5 separate regions of the Homo sapiens genome follow, and regions 2, 3, 4 and 5 are each linked to region 1. The links are contacts of gene promoters, found by promoter capture Hi-C in blood cells and fetal thymus (Javierre and others, 2016). All regions are on one chromosome and are shown on one strand. Each heading gives the region's core, a stretch centred on a gene start or on the middle of the fragment in contact. The rest is flanking DNA. Distances are from core to core; before and after follow the strand shown.

What was found. Contacts are between HindIII fragments. The CHiCAGO score rates a contact against its expected background, and 5 or more counts as called.
Region 2: a fragment that was not itself captured here is called in contact with the fragment with the promoter of SDR9C7 in region 1 in 4 of 17 cell types (endothelial precursors, total CD8 T cells, M2 macrophages and 1 more); the score reaches 7.6 in endothelial precursors.
Region 3: a fragment that was not itself captured here is called in contact with the fragment with the promoter of SDR9C7 in region 1 in 9 of 17 cell types (erythroblasts, M2 macrophages, M1 macrophages and 6 more); the score reaches 9.3 in erythroblasts.
Region 4: a contact is called between a fragment that was not itself captured here and the fragment with the promoter of SDR9C7 in region 1, in 10 of 17 cell types (M1 macrophages, endothelial precursors, total B cells and 7 more). The highest score is 8.0, in M1 macrophages.
Region 5: a contact is called between a fragment that was not itself captured here and the fragment with the promoter of SDR9C7 in region 1, in 1 of 17 cell types (M1 macrophages). The highest score is 5.1, in M1 macrophages.

What each region holds. Positions count from the first base shown.
Region 1 is chr12:56,931,934-56,935,816 of GRCh38, reverse strand. It overlaps SDR9C7 (short chain dehydrogenase/reductase family 9C member 7), which reads left to right and starts at 1,409. Exons shown (of 4, transcript NM_148897.3): 1 at 1,409-1,856. The coding sequence starts at 1,556. The HindIII fragment of the contact is 2,217 bases long and covers 810-3,026 here.
Region 2 is chr12:56,785,763-56,789,156 of GRCh38, reverse strand. It overlaps HSD17B6 (hydroxysteroid 17-beta dehydrogenase 6), which reads right to left. Exons shown (of 5, transcript NM_003725.4): 5 at 1,367-2,032. The coding sequence ends at 1,815. Among named protein-coding and RNA genes, the nearest start is that of HSD17B6, 24 kb to the right of the region's middle. The HindIII fragment of the contact is 404 bases long and covers 1,243-1,646 here.
Region 3 is chr12:56,769,643-56,773,354 of GRCh38, reverse strand. All of the region lies in intron 1 of HSD17B6 (hydroxysteroid 17-beta dehydrogenase 6), which reads right to left. Among named protein-coding and RNA genes, the nearest start is that of HSD17B6, 8.2 kb to the right of the region's middle. The HindIII fragment of the contact is 2,222 bases long and covers 1,195-3,416 here.
Region 4 is chr12:56,801,949-56,805,738 of GRCh38, reverse strand. No RefSeq gene overlaps it. Among named protein-coding and RNA genes, the nearest start is that of HSD17B6, 41 kb to the right of the region's middle. RefSeq lists an enhancer at 420-1,069. The HindIII fragment of the contact is 4,063 bases long and covers 1-3,790 here.
Region 5 is chr12:56,719,649-56,723,459 of GRCh38, reverse strand. NACA (nascent polypeptide associated complex subunit alpha) reads left to right here. Exons shown (of 9, transcript NM_001365896.1): 3 at 2,001-3,811. Among named protein-coding and RNA genes, the nearest start is that of NACA, 3.7 kb to the left of the region's middle. RefSeq lists an enhancer at 2,525-2,644. The HindIII fragment of the contact is 4,291 bases long and covers 139-3,811 here.

The DNA.
Region 1 (3,883 bases), core at 160-2,659:
ATTCACCCAGGAGGCAGACAGAGACTGGGAGATTGTTCCCAGATCCCGCATAGGAGGTGCTCTGCCTCAGGTTGGTTATGAAGTAGGTGTGGTTTGCTTTCTACCATTTCCCACCTCCATCCCCTATAAGCTTTAGGTCTGCTCTTTGGGGGTGGGTTCATAATCTGGCCCCCTCCCCTACTTTGTTAAGGAACGGCCAAACCCTGCGGGGCTTTCCCAGGGTGACACCTGCTTTATGTGATTCCACGCTGGTCAGACTTGGCAAATGGTGGATCACAGAGATACATCCTTTGTCCCTTCACACTAGAGAACTTTGTGGTCCCATTTCTGTGTCAGACTCGCTAAGCCATGAAGGTGTGAGCTAGGACCAGGCTCATCCCAAGGAATGGTGACCCTAGATGTTGATCCAAAGAACCACAGAGGCTCCAGCATCATTCCCTGCATCTTATGCAATTCTGGGTGTGGCCCCTCACTACTCACACCTCTGGTTTCCTTATTTCCTTTCCTTTACCACCTTACCTCTTAGCTTTCTGTAAATTATTTGCTAAATTGCCTAGAATCTCTGTTTCTCCTCCAAGTCCCGACCCTGAGAATTTTCTATGTCTCTGGCCCCAGTTCTCTGCTCCTCCTATATCTCATCCCCTCTTACAGTCAAGGCCTCTGCCCAGACAATTCCCTCAGCTGCCCAGTGAACTCATGATCCCTCCTCATCATCTTGCCCAGGGCTGCTTACTGGTGACCTGAGTATGACCCCCACAGGGTGTCAGGCCTGAGTCCCCCAGGTCTTTCTGCTTTCTGGTGGCTAAGCTTCACATGCCAGCCTCCCCTATAGGAGGGCCCTGCTGCCTCTAGCCTCAGGACAATGGAGGTACATCCACCCTAGGAGAAATCCATTGCTTTTCATCCTCTCTCATGATGGAGACTTACCTAAGAATTCCAGAGAGCTGATGACCTGCGACTTGTTTCTCTTGGGGTTTGGAAGGTACAGAACCAATGTTGTTTGTTTTACATTAATAAATTTGTCTTGAGTATTTTCCCTGAAAATAAACTTATTTACATACCTGCACTCACGACAAATGATTTTGATCCCTGGAGACCAAAATCCCCAGGCTGGGTTGGGGGCAGGGTGGGGACAGGATTTCTAGGGGAGCTGTCTGGGGTGAGTCCTCATCTTTCATTTGCCTGCCTTACACCGCCTGGGTGAGCCACCACTCATCACCAACATTACAAGTGGATTATTTCCAATTCTTGGCAGCTTTACCCATCAGGGCAGGGGGAGAGAGGGAGGCAGCTACCAGGGCTGTCAGAGGTGACAAGGCTTCAGGTTGGACTTGAATTTCTTGCATCTGGGCTAATTGCTGTGGTGATGCATCCACCTATAAAAATTACAGCGTGGCTCACCCAGGGACCTAGATTTGTTGCAAGCTGTGGGAGGAAGGAGAGTTCTTCTTCCAGGTGGTTTCCTGCAGACTGCCTGCTAGGGCTCAGAGGACCAGCTTCTTCCCTGCTGTCTCCTGAGCCCAGTCCCTCTTGGCCATCACATTCCCCTTGCCCTATGGCGGCCCTCACAGACCTCTCATTTATGTATCGCTGGTTCAAGAACTGCAATCTGGTTGGCAACCTCTCAGAGAAGTACGTCTTCATCACAGGCTGTGACTCTGGCTTCGGGAACCTGCTGGCCAAACAGCTGGTTGATCGGGGCATGCAGGTGCTGGCTGCTTGCTTCACTGAGGAGGGATCCCAGAAACTTCAGCGGGATACCTCCTATCGGCTGCAGACCACCCTACTGGATGTCACCAAGAGCGAAAGCATCAAGGCGGCGGCCCAGTGGGTGAGGGACAAAGTGGGCGAACAAGGTGGGGCGAATTACATTCTTTGGCTTTCTTGGTTTCTCCTTCTTCCTCTTCCTCTCTCCCGAAGCATCTGACAGTATCAGAGACCCTGATGTCCAGATTGGGTGGGAGGGGTGATGTAGGGAAAGGCCCCTGCCTCAATCTGATTGGAAGCCACTGCATGGTTTGGCCTGTTCACATGAAGGGGTGATTTCCCAAGGAAGTTTTCTGTCCTGGAAACTCAGAGAAACGGGAAAGAGGTCTCAATAGGAAGCGAGGGGGGAAGATGTGTTCTGTGTGTCCAAACCTCTAAAAATGGACGTGCCTGGCTGGGCGTGGTGGCTCACGCCTATGAGCCCAGCACTTTGGAAGGCCGAAGTGGGAGGATCATGAGGTCAAGAGATCGAGACCATCCCGGCCAACATGGTGAAACCCCATCTCTACTAAAAAGTATAAAAATTACCTGGGTGTGGTGGCACGTGCCTGTAGTCCCAGCTACTCAGGAGGCTGAGGCAGGAGAATCACTTGAACCCGGGAGGCGGAGGTTGCAGTGAGCCAAGATTGCGCCACTGCACTCCAGCCTCGTGACAGAGCAAGAATCCCTCTCAAAAAGAAAAAAAAGAAAAAAAAAGGATGTGCCTCTCTGATGTTTCAGCAGTCCTAACCATCAGCTCCTGGGGAAATACAAACACATTTCTTGTTGGGATCAGGATGGGGGAGGGGGAATGAGACAGGAGGCTGGATCCCATGAGTGGGTGCAGTTTGTCTCCTTGACTATGTCAGGCAGGGGAGAAAGAGATCTGGTCTCTTCTTGACATCATGGTGGGTGTTGATTTGACTTCAGGGCAAGTATGTATGTCACAGTGGCTGCTCCTATTGGGAAAGGAAGCTGTGGACTGGGGCTGGCCCAGGACTGTGTGGGGACCTGCCTCATGCACTTCCAGCACACAGGGTGTGGGCCCAGGAACAGGAGGAACAGGATGGCTGAGTTGCAGAAGCAGCAGACTAGAGGAAGTCCTCCCTCCTAAAGGAACTAGTCTGGAGCCCATGCGCAGGTCAGGGCAACAGAGCCCTGGAGCCAGGGGGATCTAGACAGTAACTCCCTGCTTGATTCTTCTCCTTAGCACTTATCACTAGTCAATGTACAATAGATTTTACTTATTTATTGTCTGTTTCCTCTGCTAGAATAAAGCTTCCTGGGGACAAGGATTTTTGTCCCTTTTATTTACTGTACATCCTTAGTACCTAGAATAATGTCTGGCACCTAGTAAGGTACTGAATAAATAGATTTGAGTGAGCTAATTAATTAATAATTCAGCAAGAGTGAGCCTCTGTCTTCAGCAGGCTGTCTCAGCCAGTTCCCTACATTCAGCCTTGAGCCACTTGCCTTAATACCTCACTTAGCATGTGAGTTTCCTGTTGCTATTGTAACAAATAACACAACTGTGGGGTCTGAAGACAATACAAACATATTATCTTGTAGTTGTGGAGGAGTAATGTCTAAAATAGGCCTCACTGATCTAAAATCAAAGTCAGCAGAGCTGTGTTCCTTCTAGAGGCTGTAGAGGAGAATCCGTCTCATCGACTTTTCCAGCTTCCAGAGGCAGCTGGCATCCCCTGGCTCCTGGCCTGCTACCTCCATCTTCAAGGCCCGCAAGGTTGGGCCCAGTCTTTTTCACACTTTTCTCAAGCTCTCTGATTCTCCGGTTTCTGCCTCTTTCCACTTAGGACTTGTGATTATATTGGGCTCACCAGGTTAATCCAGGATAATTTCCCGTGTTAGCTTCCTCCCTAACTTTAAGGACAATTAATTAGCAACCTCCATTCCACCTGCAACCTTAATTCCCCTTTCCCATGTAATCCAGCAGATTCACAGGTTCCAGAGATAATGAGGATGGGGACATCTTTGGGGGACCATTATTTTGCCTAAGCCACTTGGCAATATCCTGGTCTAAGAAACACTGGGAACTGGGGTGGGTAGGGGGATGGGAGAGGAAGTTCTTTCATGCTTTCTCATTGCTCCTGAATGGAGAAAGGCAGGGAGACTGGGT
Region 2 (3,394 bases), core at 195-2,694, 150 kb after region 1:
GTCCGGGAGGGAGGTGGGGGGCTCAGGCCCCCGCCTGGCCAGCCGCCCCGTCCAGGAGGGAGGTGGGGGGGTCAGCCCCCCGCCCGGCCGCCCCGTCCGGGAGGTGAGGGGCGCCTCTGCCCGGCCGCCCCTACTGGGAAGTGAGGAGCCCCTCTGCCCGGCCACCACCCCGTCTGGGAGGTGTACCCAACAGCTCATTGAGAACGGGCCATGATGACGATGGCGGTTTTGTGGAATAGAAAAGGGGGAAAGGTGGGGAAAAGATTGAGAAATCGGATGGTTGCCGTGTCTGTGTAGAAAGAAGTAGACATGGGAGACTTTTCATTTTGTTCTGTACTAAGAAAAATTCTTCTGCCTTGGGATCCTGTTGATCTATGACCTTACCCCCAACCCTGTGCTCTCTGAAACATGTGCTGTGTCCACTCAGGGTTAAATGGATTAAGGGCGGTGCAAGATGTGCTTTGTTAAACAGATGCTTGAAGGCAGCATGCTCGTTAAGAGTCATCACCACTCCCTAATCTCAAGTACCCAGGGACACAAACACTGCAGAAGGCCGCAGGGTCCTCTGCCTAGGAAAACCAGAGACCTTTGTTCACTTGTTTATCTGCTGACCTTCCCTCCACTATTGTCCTATGACCCTGCCAAATCCCCATCTGCGAGAAACACCCAAGAATGATCAATTAGAAAAAAAAAAAAAAAAGAAAGCAGTGAGAGGGAAATCTCCAGGGACAGGAGGGTTGGGGGGTTGAAATAGACTGAATAAGTCTATAATCTATTTAATTATTTAGAGAACACTACTGGTAGTGACAGATCTGAGAGAACAACCAAAAAAAGGTTAAGGTAAATAAAAACCTTTGCAAGCAAAAAAGCAAGGCAATAATTAACTCCAAGAAAAACAAAAAATGTTACTATAAAAGAAAAATACTTGATTAAATAGTTAATAATATTCACATACTTAATTATATAAACACTATTCATTTAACCAGAAATGTGATAAAATTATATTCAAACTATAAGGATAAAGGAAATGGGCAGGAAAGTGATGTAAAAAAAAGCCAAATTTGCACCATAACAGAAAGTCAATTGAGAATAGCTAAAATTAATAAAAAATAACAGTATATCATTTAGAAGTTCAGAGATAAATACCAGAAGAAATAGCTAAAAGTTGAGACCATTTGCCTCTGACGAGCAGCAATGAAGGATGAGGATAAGGGCAAGGATTGCCATTTTTCATTTTAAGCTTTTGAATATTAATTGAATTTTTAGCTATATATGTATAACATTATTTTGATTTAAAATTTAAAAAGTAATTTCTTTTTAAAAAAGGAAGAAATATATTGGGGAAAAAAGACTGCTGACAAAAAGAGAAGAGAAAGAAAAATCAAATATTTATTAAAAGTACCATAATACAGACCCATTTCAAGTAAGGACAAACACACCAACATATTTCTTAGTAGTTTCCTCACAATAGATTATTAAAGCATAGAACAATTATTCATATTCATAAAGAAATGACTTCAAAATAGGTTAAATTGTTTTCCATCTACTCTGTTTAATAAGGCAAGAACAAATGATTCACTTTAGACAAATAGTCTCATCAAAAAAGGGCTAAAATAGTAAAGATTCATCACCTAAAGTGGTAAGCTTTGGATATCTGAAATATAAACATGTTAGTACTCTGATGATGCCAGATAAATGAATTTAGGCAAGAAAACACATTGTTACAAAAAGCCTGGGTTCTAAATCAGGATTACTGAGACACTAACAATTTCAGATTTTTGCCTTCATTCCAAGAAGCACCAACCCAGTTTTCTTTAGACTGCCTGGGCTGGTTTGGGCCAAGATCTAGTCAAAATGTAGTCTGCCAGTGATGTAGGTAAATAAGATAGAGGGATGAAGAAAAATTTAGCATCCCAGCCAGCTGAATATCGAGTTCGCGGATGCACCGATGTCAGAGCATGTTCCATGCAGTCAGTGACCAGGTTCAGGTTTGTGCTACAATTCAACAGCCCTTCCTTCATGATATTGTAAACTGTATACAAAAAAAGAAATGGTGGTCAACAATCTTATTCCTTATATTTTTAAGATCATGCAGTCACAGAAGTCTCACCACATCTAATTTCTACAAAATAGAATGATCTAGAATGTGCATCCCAATATGATAGCCACTAGCCACATGTAGCTATTGAGCACTTAAACAATAGCTAATGCACTGGAATAAAAACTAAATTTTGGATTTTATTTAATTTTAATTTTAAAACTCAATCATTTTTCTTTTTTTGTTTGGTTGTTTTTTGGGGTTTCTTTTGAGACAGGGTCTTGCTCTGTCACCCAGGTTGGAGTGTAGTGGTACAATCTCAGCTCACTGCAACCTCTGCCTCCCAGGCTCGTGATCCTCCCTCCTCAGCTTCCCACATAGCTGGGACTACAGGTTCGCATCCCCATGCCCAGCTAATTTTGTTTATTTTTTGTAGACACAAGGTCTCACTATGTTGCCCAGGCTGGTCTTGAATTCCTGGGCTCAAGCGATCCTCCCACATCAGCCTCCCAAAGTGCTGGAATTATAGGTGTGAGGCACCACGCCTGGCCTCAAAACTCAATTCTGATGGCTGGGTGCAGTGGCTCATGCCTGTAATCCCAGCACTTTGGGAGGCCGAGGTGGGTGGATAATTTGGGGTCAGGAGTTCGAGACCGGCATGGCCAACATGGTGAAACCCCATGTCTACTAAAAATACAAAAATTAGCCAGGCTTGGTGGTGCATGCCTGTAGTCCCAGTTACTCAGGAAGCTGAGACAAGAGAATTGCTTGAACCCGGGAGGCAGAGGTTGCAGTGAGCCAAGATCACGCCACTGCACTCCAGCCTGGGTGACAGAGCGAGACTCTGTCTCAAAAAAAAAAAAAAAAAACACACAACTTAATTCTGTTACTAGAGGATTTTTAAATAGGTTTAGAACAACACAGATATGGGAATATACTTTTTCAACTGGAAATTTTTTTAACATTATTGAGATATTCATATATCATAAAATTCAGCCATTTAAAGTGTACAAATCAATAATTTTTAGTATATTCAGAGTTGTGCAATCATCATCACAATCTACATTTAGAACATTTTCATCATCCCAAAAAGAAACCCTGTACCTATTAGAAGTCATTCCCATTTTTCACCGCTGCTGCTACCTCCTCCTCCAGGTCTTCAGAATAATATTCTTATAGGAAATTGACAAATCCCACTCCCACAAAGCTCCTATCACCTGAACAAGAGAAATATAGCCTCAGGGAATGGCCCATAGGGCTCTGCAAAGACTTATCCTCACTGACTTACCTCTTCCCACCTACATGCTTTCTCCTGTCACATTAAGACACATAGTTTGTGGACAAGCCCTTTGTTAT
Region 3 (3,712 bases), core at 1,056-3,555, 160 kb after region 1:
TGTAAGCCACACTACGGAATCTGGATGTTATCCTGTGGACAGAGTATGCTACTAGAAGACATTAAACAGAGTATGCTACTAGAGTCAGGTGGCCAGATTAAGTTTTAGGAAGATTTGTCTCACAATGGCAGTGGAGGATAGATGAAACAGGTGTGGTGAAGGCAGTGAGATCCATTAGGAGATCCAATAGTTTGGGTGAGTTATTGCAGCCAAAGCAATTTGTAAACCTAGACCAATCAGAAGCATTGTTGAAATGAGTGTTCACAGATGCCTATGTTTCTATATGAAATTCTGGAGCAAAGTCCACCATTTTTTAGTAATCTATACATGTTGGCTGAACTAACATAATTCATAACAACATAGGTAGAGGTCAAATATGGGTATGGGCCCGCTAGCATCATAAGGCCTATACCACAACGCCTGCATGAGGCTAGTCTATGCAATTCAAACTCCTTAGTTTGACATGAATGTCCCCAGCACTCTGGCTACTTAGGCTTCTCTCTTGCATCCTACTCTTTAGCCAAAACAAACAACTTTCAGTCCCCTGCAAAGCACAGGCTTTTTACGCCTCTGCATACACTTCTTTCTACTGGAAAGAAGTAGCCCTCATCTACTTGGCAAATAACACTCTTTTTTTTTTCTTTTTTTTTTTTTTTTGAGACAGAGTTTCACTCTTTTTGCCCAGGCTGGAGTGCAATGGCGCAATCTCAGCTCACTGCAACCTCCGCCTCCTGGGTTCAAGTGATTCTCCTTGCCTCAGCCTCCCGAGTAGCTGGGATTACAGGCACGTGCCACCAAGCCGGGCTAATTTTGTATTTTTAGTAGGGAGAGAGTTTTTTACCATGTTGGCCAGGCTAGTCGTGAACTCCTGACCTCAGGTGATCCACCCACCTTGGCCTCCCAAAATGCTGGGATTACAGGCATGAGCCACCACACCCAGCCATAACACTCATCTTTTAAGTCTCAGCCTAATCATCACTTTCATTCAGCAAACATTAATTCAACAACTACTTGAGTCAGACACAGTGTTAGGCACTGATACACAAGAGTGAACAATACATAGTCCATTTTTCATTGAATTCACAGTCTCATTATGAAGACTGACAACAATGCATTATAACAGAAGTAAAAACAGGAGGCTGCTGGAACACTCAGGAGAGGCTTCTAAGGCAGTTTAGAGAGGTCTGAGAAGCTTCCTAGAGAGAATAAAATATAAGTTGAGATCTACAGGTGTACTAGTCCGTTTTCACACAGCTATAAAGATACCACCCGAGACTGGGTAATTTATAAAGAAAAGAGGTTTAATTGATTCACAGTTCCACATGGCTGGGGAGGTCTCAGGAAAATTACAATCATGGTAGAAGGGGAAGCAAACACATGATGGCAGGAAAGCAAAAGCAAGCAAGAGAGGAACTACCAAACGCTTATAAAACCATCAGCTCTCATGAGAACTCAACATGGGGGAAACCACCCCCATGATCCAATCACCTCCCACCAGGTTCCTCCCTAAACACCTAGGAATTACAATTCAAGATATGATTTGGGTAGCGACACAAAGCCAAACCATATCAAAAGGATAATTAAAAAATAATAGCTAGGCCAGGCACACTGGCACATGCCTGTAATCTCAGCATGTTGGGAGGCCAAGGCAGGCAGATCACCTGAGGTCAGGAGTTTGAGATCAGCCTGGTCAACATGGCGAAACCGCATCTCTACAAAAATACAAAAATTAGCCAGGCATGATTGTGGGCGCCTGTAATCCCAGCTACTTGGGAGGCTGAGGCAGGAGAATCGCTTGAACCCGGGAGGTGGAGGTTGCAGTGAGCCGAGATCATGCCATTGCATTCCAGCCTGGGTGACAGAGCGAGATTCTGCCCATCTCAAAAAAAAAAAAAAAAAAAAAAAATTGCAACCCTTGCCGAGCACTTGCTGTGTATCAGGCTCTGTTCTAAGATGTCACATATATTAACTTTTTGAATTCTCACAAGAACCCTACAAGACAGGTCCCATCATTATTCCTCTGTGTCAGTTCAGATACCAAGACAAAATTAGACATGCAAGAGATTATGGGGGAAACACCCTCAGAGGACAAAGGGGGAAGGCACAGGAATAGGTGGTAATGCAGATCTGACACCTCGGGAAGGAGAGGGGAACAGAAGGAGGAGAAGATAGGAAGAGCTTTAGACTGTAGTAGAGCCCCAAGAAAGTCTCAGCCAGGCCCATGAGCCTGAGCAAAGACTGCCACTGGAGAAGTTCCACACTGGGCTGAACTGGTCCAGCTCCAGTACTGCCATCCTTCTGGTCATTGGCTGACCAGTGCCCAAGAGGAGCGTGCCTCAGTGTAAATACCACAGCAGATCGGAGGGTGCCACAACTGGAGGCTGGAAGTCAACCTCACTCCTCATAGCAGATTTTCTTGAGTGATCTGAGCAATGCACCTCAATGGCTGCCACACTGTTTCATAGGTGAGCACTGAGAGATTACATACAGTACTAGACAGAGGGGACAAAAAATGGTCCAGGCAAGAGACTTTCCTGCCCTGATTTAACCTGCCCCATGGTCTAACAGAATTGACTATACCCTCCTTAGTGTCCCCATTGTGGCCTGGGTTTATCATGATGCCTGCTGTACTTCATTGCACTGCTCTTCCCCATTTTTAGACTATAAGGCCCTTGAGAGCCCAGGTTACATATTAGTCTGCACCTGGCCCAGTGAATGGCACATAGCAGATACTTAATAAATGTTAGATAAATTAAGTTATACTAAGTAAAAATATCCTGATAAAAAATTGAGAGAAAAAAAGCAGGGAGAATGAGCCAGAGAAGTAGGAAAAAGCAAGCTGATGAAAGCCAAGGAAAGGGGGGCTTAATGAGGATCAGCAATGCAACCAGGAGGTCTGCTGGGTAATAGGAGGGCACTGGTGCTCTTAACGGGAAGACTCAGACAGTGAAGGGCACAGAAGCCAATCTTCAGTGGGCTGCTGCATGAATTGGAGGGCAGGAAGTGGAGCCGAGTGGAGACTCTTTTTCAAAAGCCTGGTCTGGGAAGGAGAGGAGAGAAGGCAGTAAGTAGCGAGAGGGCAACTTAGGGTGTAGGCAAGTAAAGTGGAAGGAGACAGTGAAAGGGAGAAAACAGTGGAGAGAGGCATATATTGCTCCTCCCTCCCCCACCATCTTCTCTTTCTCTCCTTTTCCCCTCTTCCCTCTGTCTCTCTCCTTCCTTCTCTGAAGCCCTTTGCCTCTCTCCAATCTGAGAGCTCTGTGTTCTCTAGCCAGCTGCCTCTGTTCTGCCTAAGTGGCATTCCCTGGTGCACTACAGTAACACAGAGAGCTTCAACCTGACTGTTTATTGACTAAAAGGTAATTTTCTGTTGCCAGTCAAAGATGAAAACGTATTTCCCCCATTAGAGAGAAGCTTGGCCCTCACAGTTTCCCCGGGCATTACTATTCAGCCATCGCATGCCTAGCAGCAAGAAGACCTGCAGAAGAGATACACCTGGCGGAATCCCAAACCCTAGGCCAAACCTGAATGTGCCTCGAATATTTCAAATGTCCAAATACCCGAAGTGGCGTGGCCTGCTTGCTTTTACAAACCATTCATCTGCAAAAGCTGTGCAATTACTTTACGTTTTTGCCTTTGACTCAAATTATTTATACACAGTACTTAAGCTGCTATTTCTTGATTTACCAATTTTTGACATTCTCAATTAACT
Region 4 (3,790 bases), core at 694-3,193, 130 kb after region 1:
GGGCCGTCAAACTCCAATGGTCATGCAAATGGAGCCTCGGACAATGGCTCCCTTTTACTGGAGACCCTTATATAGGCCCCTGAGAGAAAACCTGACTGCCATTTTCCCAAAAACAATGCCCCCTGTCAGCATGAAGCAGTTAAGAATGGTCACTGTCCCTATCCTAACGGCAGTTAGATGTACCTCTACAGAGTGGTGATTGATGGCAGTGGTGGGCCATCTAGAGTGGCCGCTGCCATCACACAGGCTGCAGCAGGGAGGTACAGCCAGAGCTGTATACTCCATGCAGCTGGTGGGAGCCTCAGACAAGTGGGAGCCCTGCCCCTTCTGATTTGTTAGGGTGGGAGCTCCCCAGGTGCAGACACAAGTCTGCCCAAGTTATGGCTGCAAACTGGGCCTCCCAAAGCACAGAGCAAGAAGAAGCCCCACCCCCTGGGGCACAGGTTAAGCTGCCCAAGTCATGGCTGCAGACCCAGGCCTCCCTGTGCTCTTGGGGGTGCTGGGAGCAGGGAGGAGCCCTGTCCTCCTAGGCGTGGCTGCAGCCACCCAAGTCGTGACTGCAGAGCATGACCTCCCACTCCACAGAGCAGGACCCCCACCCCCTGGATGCAGCTGCAGACACCCAAACTGTGGCTGTGAACCCAGGCATCCCTGCACTCTTGGAGACCCAGGATGGTCCTCTCCCCCTGCCCTCACAGGCTTGGAAGTGCCTGCTCCTGCCGCCTGGCTTCTCCCTGCTGTCGGTACCCACTCCGATCTAAGAGCAAAGTCATGGTCAAGCCTGAGCTCTGTCACAGCCCAGCCAGGTGTGTACATGCTCAGGGAAGTGTTGACACACCAGCCCCCTGCCACTTCAGCCCGCCTCTGGACCTTGGGTGCCAAAGAGCACAGGAGGGAAGCTGAGGGGGTGATAAGGGCAGTTTGGCACTGGCCTGCAGGTGCCCCTTGGCACGTACAGCCTGGGTGCCATGAATGGCAGCAGGAGGCAGACAGGTTCCTGGGGGGAAGGGAGTGGGTCCCACGTGAGGCCCCACCTTCAGGCCAGGGAGGGCCTGAAGGCTGGGGGCCAGGCTGCTGCTCCCATAGACTGCAGTGGAAACTTGTGGTGTCTTTTCCAGGCCCATCCATGGCTGCCCATGGAACAATCAGTGCTCACCTCCTCCCCTCTGAGGCCCATAAAAGCCCTGGGTTCAGCCAGAGCTGAGCAGATGTTGGGATGACCTGCCTGCAGACAAAAGCTACTCTCTCTGCTGATACCTGAACACTTGTCAGGATGAATTGCCTAGCAGAGAGGAGCTACCCTCTCTGCTAGGAGCTGAACACTCATCAAGACACCCTGGCTGCAGAAAGTAGCTGCCCCCTGCAGGTTTCCTCTGAGCTGTTCTATCACTCAATAAAGCTCCCCTTCATCTTACTCACTCTCCTCTTTTCTGCCTACCTCATTCTTCCTGGTCACAGGACAAGAACTCAGGACCCACTGAATGGCAAGGATAAAAGAGCTGTAACACAAACAGGGCTGAGACATGCCCCTTGCTTGCCTCATTGTGGGCAAAGAGAAGAAAAGAAGAGCTGCAGCCCTTTGGGGAACCCAGACCTGGGAGTTCCCCAGACCAGGGCTGTGACTCCTATTTTGGGGCCCTGTGGTTCCTGGCATCTCCGAGCTTCTGGGTGCCAATGTGTCCTCCAGTGCCAGCCGTAGAAGCTGCTTGCAGTGTGCCTGGTCTAGCTGCAGCCTCACAGAGAGCCAGAGCCCATGCCAGCACCTGGAGCTGCCCGGCCCACTGCGGCAGCTGGTACGTCTGACTGTGCACAGTGGCCGGATCCCACACTCACTCACACACTCCTCACTGTTCCATGCCTGACTCACCCTTGGCAGGCATGGGTCCCAGGCCAGTAGGGTGAGCCAAACACAGCCTGCCAGGCTGAGTAGGTGAAACAAGCCCAGTGGGCCCGAGCAAAACTCGGGCACAGGGGCCACCAGCCACAGAGGTTCCTGGCTAGAAAAACAACACCCCAAAGATCCCATAATACAATGAGATACCATCTCACACCAGTCAGAATGACTATTATTAAAAAGTCAAAAAATACCAGATGCTGGCGAGGTTGCCAAGAAAAAGGAATGCTTATACACTGCTGGTTGGAATGTAAATTAGCTCAACCATCGTGGAAAACAGTAAGGCAATTCCTCAAAGAACTGAATTCAGAACTACCATTCAACCCAGCAATCTCATTACTGGGTATATACCCAGAGGAATATAAATCATTCCACCATAAAGACACATGCACATTAATGTTCACTGCAGCACTACTCACAATAGCAAAGACATGGATTCCACCTAAATACCCATCAATGGTGGACTGGATAAAGAAAATGTGGTACATATACACCATGAAATTCTATGCAGCTGTAAAAAAGAACGAGATGATGTCCTTTGCAGGAACATGAATGAAGCTGGAAGTCATTATCCCTAGCAAACTAACACAGGAACAGAAAACCAAATACTGCATGTTCTCACATATAAGTGGGAGCTAAATAATGAGAACACATGGGCACAAAGAGGGGAATAACAGACACTGGGGCCTGCTTGAGGGACGCAGGAGGGAGGAAGAAAGAGAATCAGGAAAAATAGCTATCAGGTACTATGCTTAGTGTACTTGGGTAACAAAATGGTCTGTACACCAAACACCCATGACATGCGTTTGCCTGTATTAACAAACCTGCACATGTACCCCAGCCTGAACTAAAATAAAAGTTAAAAGTAAGCTGGGCATGGTAGCTCATGCCTGTAATCCTAGCATTTTGGGAGGTCCAGGCAAGTTAATTGCTTGAGCCCAGGAATTTGGGGCCAGCCTAGGTAACATGGTGAAACCCCATCTCTACAAAAAATACAAAAAGTTGCCGGGTGTGGTGGTGTGTGCCTGTAGTTCCAACAACTTTGGGGGCTGAAGCAGGGGGATTGCTTGAACCTGGGAGGTCAAGGCTACAGTGAGCACTGAGCTGAGACTACACCACTGCACTCCAGTCTGGGTGACAAGATGAGACCCTGTCTCAAAAAAAAGAAAAGAAAAAAAGTTTAATTTTTAAAAAGTTAAAAATAAATAAATACATTTTAAAAATAATCTCTCCCTCACAAAGCATCAGAAAAACAGACTTTACACTTCACATAATTTTATATTTTCTGTGTTTGCTTCATTCAGCAAATATTTATTGAATAACTACTAGGTACAAGATCTTGTATCTAGGTTAAAATTTTATTGACACATTTATTCATTTCTTCCCAAGGACTAAGGTCTTTCGTAATGCCGATGCCCTCCAAACATTCTACACTTTACTTAGATCAGTTGGCAGGATTAAAAGGTCTTCCTGTTAATAATCAGCTTGAAAAAAATTCTTTAAAACAGTGTTTGGCCACAAGAAACTTCCCAGCAATATCCATTACCCTCAAAATTAGCGCAATCTGGTTCCACTTTGTATAATAAAATAATGTGTTGTTTTTCAATTGCTATTGACCCCAGGTTGCAAGTTATATAAACTGAGTGTGCCCAGGTGAACCAAGAATGCAACCATGGGCAGCATCTAAATGCCTGAACCAAGGAAAGGGGATGGAATTAAGAAGTCGACACCAGGCCAGGCAGAGTAGCTCACACCTGTAATGCCAGTGCTTTGGGAGGCCGAGGTGTGAAGATTTCTTGAGGCCATGAATTTGAGACCAACCTAGGCAACACAGCAAGACCCTATCTCAACAAAAAAAGAAAAAAAAAGCAAGAGGACACTTCATGGCATGATCCA
Region 5 (3,811 bases), core at 1,035-3,534, 210 kb after region 1:
AAAATAAAGTACTGTTCTCTAAAGATTCTGTAATTTCAGTACAAAACGAGATTTTAGAGATTGTGTCATTGAACAACTTAATTTTACAAATACGAAGATTTGAAATTCAGATGAATTTAGAATAATCTGATTCAAGCTTCAAAACTAATGCATTTACTTCTGAAACAGTCCTTAATGCTATTAAACGTATTCCTGAATAGTCTGAGTTGCATAGTAGGCTTATATTAAGGAAGTACCAATGATAAATACACAAGGTTTTATCTGTAATGATAGTCTATTAGAATGAAGAAGGAAGCTCAAGGAATTGTTGATGGTGTCAAAGCAAGTATTTGAGTGCTTATTCCATTTGAGGTCCAGTCAGAAGAAAACATATTCCATGTTTTTAATTCTGATTCATTATGTTTGGTAGCGTTTTCCTGTAATCGTTAGACTTTGGCCTACCCACTCTCCAGGAAAAACTAGTTGAGCCACCTTGTCTTTTCCATGGTAGGATGCCATAAGAACTTCAGAATTACTGGTTGAGTGAATTTTGAATTTGAATTTTGGTACCACGGGCTTCCCCCCCGCCCCCCTTAACATTCCCTTCTAAGCATTGAGCATTTGTTGATCCAATTCTGTGTTACCTCCTGAATGCCAGAGATACTGTCTTACTGTCATGCCAAACATTGGTGTATTTTGACATAATGAAACACTTAAATTCCAAGTTAAGGAGTGGGGATCCAGTGTATTCTCGCCACTCCAATTGTCTTCTTTGGTTTGTTTTGTTTTGAGACGGAGTCTCACCCTGTCACCCAGGCTGGAGTGCATGCAGTAGCGCGATCTTGGCTCACTGCAACCTCCACCTCCTGGGTTCAAGCCATTCTCCTGCCTCTGCCTCCTGAGTAGCTGGTATTACAGGTGTACACCACCACGCCCAGCTAATTTTTGTATTTTTAGTAGAGACGGGGTTTCACCATGTTGGTCAGGTCGGTCTGGAACTCCTGACCTCGTGATCCGCCCTCCCAGGCATCCCGAAGTGCTGGGATTACAGGCATGAGCCACTGTTACAGGCTCTCCAATTCTCTTCTTCCAAAATAGCACCACAATCTGGTTTAACAAGTTAGGTTACAGTTTCATAATACAGTCCCTACCCTTGTGAGTAAGCTCTCTGCCTGGAGGTCTAATTCATGTCTAATTCATCTTGGATTGATGTCTGAAGAATTAACATCACCTAGGAAGGTTTATAGAGACTATTACAGTCCTTTTGTGGTTGGTTTTCTTGTTTGGGTTTTGTGAGTAAGTAAACTGGTAAGGTATAAAGAAGCTAAGTGACTTTAATACTTGATATTAAATTCTGAAGTGTTTCAACTTTAGGAAGAACTGAATTGTGCTGTGCACCTCCTTCCCAAAACTATTCTAACAGAGTCAGATGTTTCCTAGCCTAGTGGAAGCCTGAAAGTATAAAAGCCTGTGTTTTCTTATTCAGTTCAGATTCCCCATCATCGTCACTGCTCACTAACTTCTTTGTTCCAGTTTTCAGTATCTTTTCTGTTCATGATATTTGGGTGGACAGAGTAGCACAGCTGTTCTTCTCGTGGGAATTCTGTTGGCTGTGAGAAAGACTTGGGAATACAGTCCATTTCAAGAAGTAAGGGGAGGGCACAACTGGGAAAGGATAGAAAGCATGTTGTTCTCAACCTACCAAGAGTCTGTGCTCCCCATTTAGAGATAGGCTGCTCTTAGACTGTTCTCCTCACCCTAAAATAGTTGGTTTACTTTGGTAGAACTTGGGGAAGTGTGAGAAATTAGGAGGGGAATGTCTTCTCACTTGACCACTGAAAAATGTTTGGGGAAGGTTGTTGTTGCCTGTCACCTTTATCTAATCCTGCGTGGTGACTTAGACTGTCAGATTTTAAACTCCAGTGTTTCCTAGGAGGCATGTTGTACCAAGTTGGGCTGCATAACTCACCTTTTTTCTCCTCCCCCTCCCCCTTTCTTTATCTCCTTTTGCCTTTCTCCAGCTGTGCTACCTATGTCTTCAGCCTTGAGTGTCACTGCTGCCTTAGGGCAGCCTGGACCTACCCTCCCCCCTCCTTGCTCTCCTGCCCCACAACAGTGCCCTCTCTCAGCTGCTAACCAGGCTTCCCCATTCCCTTCCCCCTCTACTATTGCCTCGACCCCTTTAGAAGTTCCTTTTCCCCAGTCATCCTCTGGAACAGCCCTACCTTTGGGAACTGCCCCTGAAGCCCCAACCTTCCTACCAAACCTAATAGGGCCTCCCATCTCCCCAGCTGCCTTAGCTCTAGCCTCTCCCATGATAGCTCCAACTCTGAAAGGGACCCCTTCCTCTTCAGCTCCCTTAGCTCTGGTTGCCCTGGCTCCCCACTCAGTTCAGAAGAGTTCTGCTTTTCCACCTAACCTTCTTACTTCACCTCCTTCAGTGGCTGTAGCTGAGTCAGGGTCAGTGATAACTCTGTCAGCTCCCATTGCTCCCTCAGAACCAAAGACTAATCTTAATAAAGTTCCCTCTGAGGTAGTCCCTAATCCAAAAGGCACCCCCAGCCCTCCATGTATAGTCAGTACTGTTCCTTACCACTGTGTGACTCCCATGGCCTCTATTCAATCTGGAGTGGCCTCCCTTCCTCAGACAACACCCACAACTACCCTAGCCATCGCTTCCCCTCAAGTCAAAGATACCACCATTTCCTCAGTTCTGATTTCTCCACAAAACCCAGGAAGCCTCAGCCTGAAGGGGCCTGTTAGTCCACCTGCTGCCTTATCTCTTTCAACTCAGTCTCTTCCTGTGGTGACCTCTTCTCAAAAGACTGCGGGTCCCAACACCCCCCCAGATTTTCCCATTTCTCTGGGCTCTCATCTTGCACCTTTACATCAGAGTTCTTTTGGTTCTGTCCAACTTTTAGGTCAAACAGGTCCTAGTGCTTTGTCAGACCCTACAGTGAAGACCATTTCTGTAGATCATTCTTCCACAGGGGCCTCTTATCCTTCTCAGAGATCTGTAATTCCTCCCCTTCCTTCCAGAAATGAGGTAGTTCCTGCTACTGTGGCTGCCTTTCCAGTGGTGGCTCCATCTGTTGACAAAGGTCCCTCTACCATCTCTAGCATAACCTGCAGCCCTTCTGGCTCCTTAAATGTAGCTACCTCTTTTTCATTATCTCCTACAACCTCTCTCATTCTCAAAAGCTCTCCTAATGCCACTTATCATTATCCTTTAGTGGCCCAAATGCCCGTTTCTTCTGTTGGAACCACCCCACTTGTGGTGACTAACCCCTGTACAATTGCTGCAGCACCTACTACTACCTTTGAGGTAGCTACTTGTGTTTCTCCTCCAATGTCATCAGGTCCCATAAGTAACATAGAACCAACTTCCCCTGCTGCCTTGGTTATGGCACCTGTGGCTCCCAAAGAGCCTTCTACTCAAGTAGCAACCACTCTGAGGATACCAGTCTCTCCTCCTCTGCCAGACCCTGAAGACCTCAAAAATCTCCCCAGTTCAGTATTGGTTAAATTTCCAACACAAAAAGACCTCCAAACTGTACCTGCCTCTCTTGAAGGAGCCCCTTTCTCTCCAGCCCAAGCAGGACTCACCACCAAGAAAGACCCTACTGTATTACCGTTAGTCCAGGCAGCCCCTAAAAATTCCCCTTCTTTCCAAAGTACATCCTCTTCTCCAGAGATACCTCTTTCTCCTGAAGCCACCCTAGCAAAGAAAAGCCTTGGGGAGCCTCTCCCTATAGGTAAGCCAGCCAGCAGTATGACCTCCCCTCTGGGTGTTAACTCCTCGGCCTCTGTAATCAAGACAGATTCTTATGCA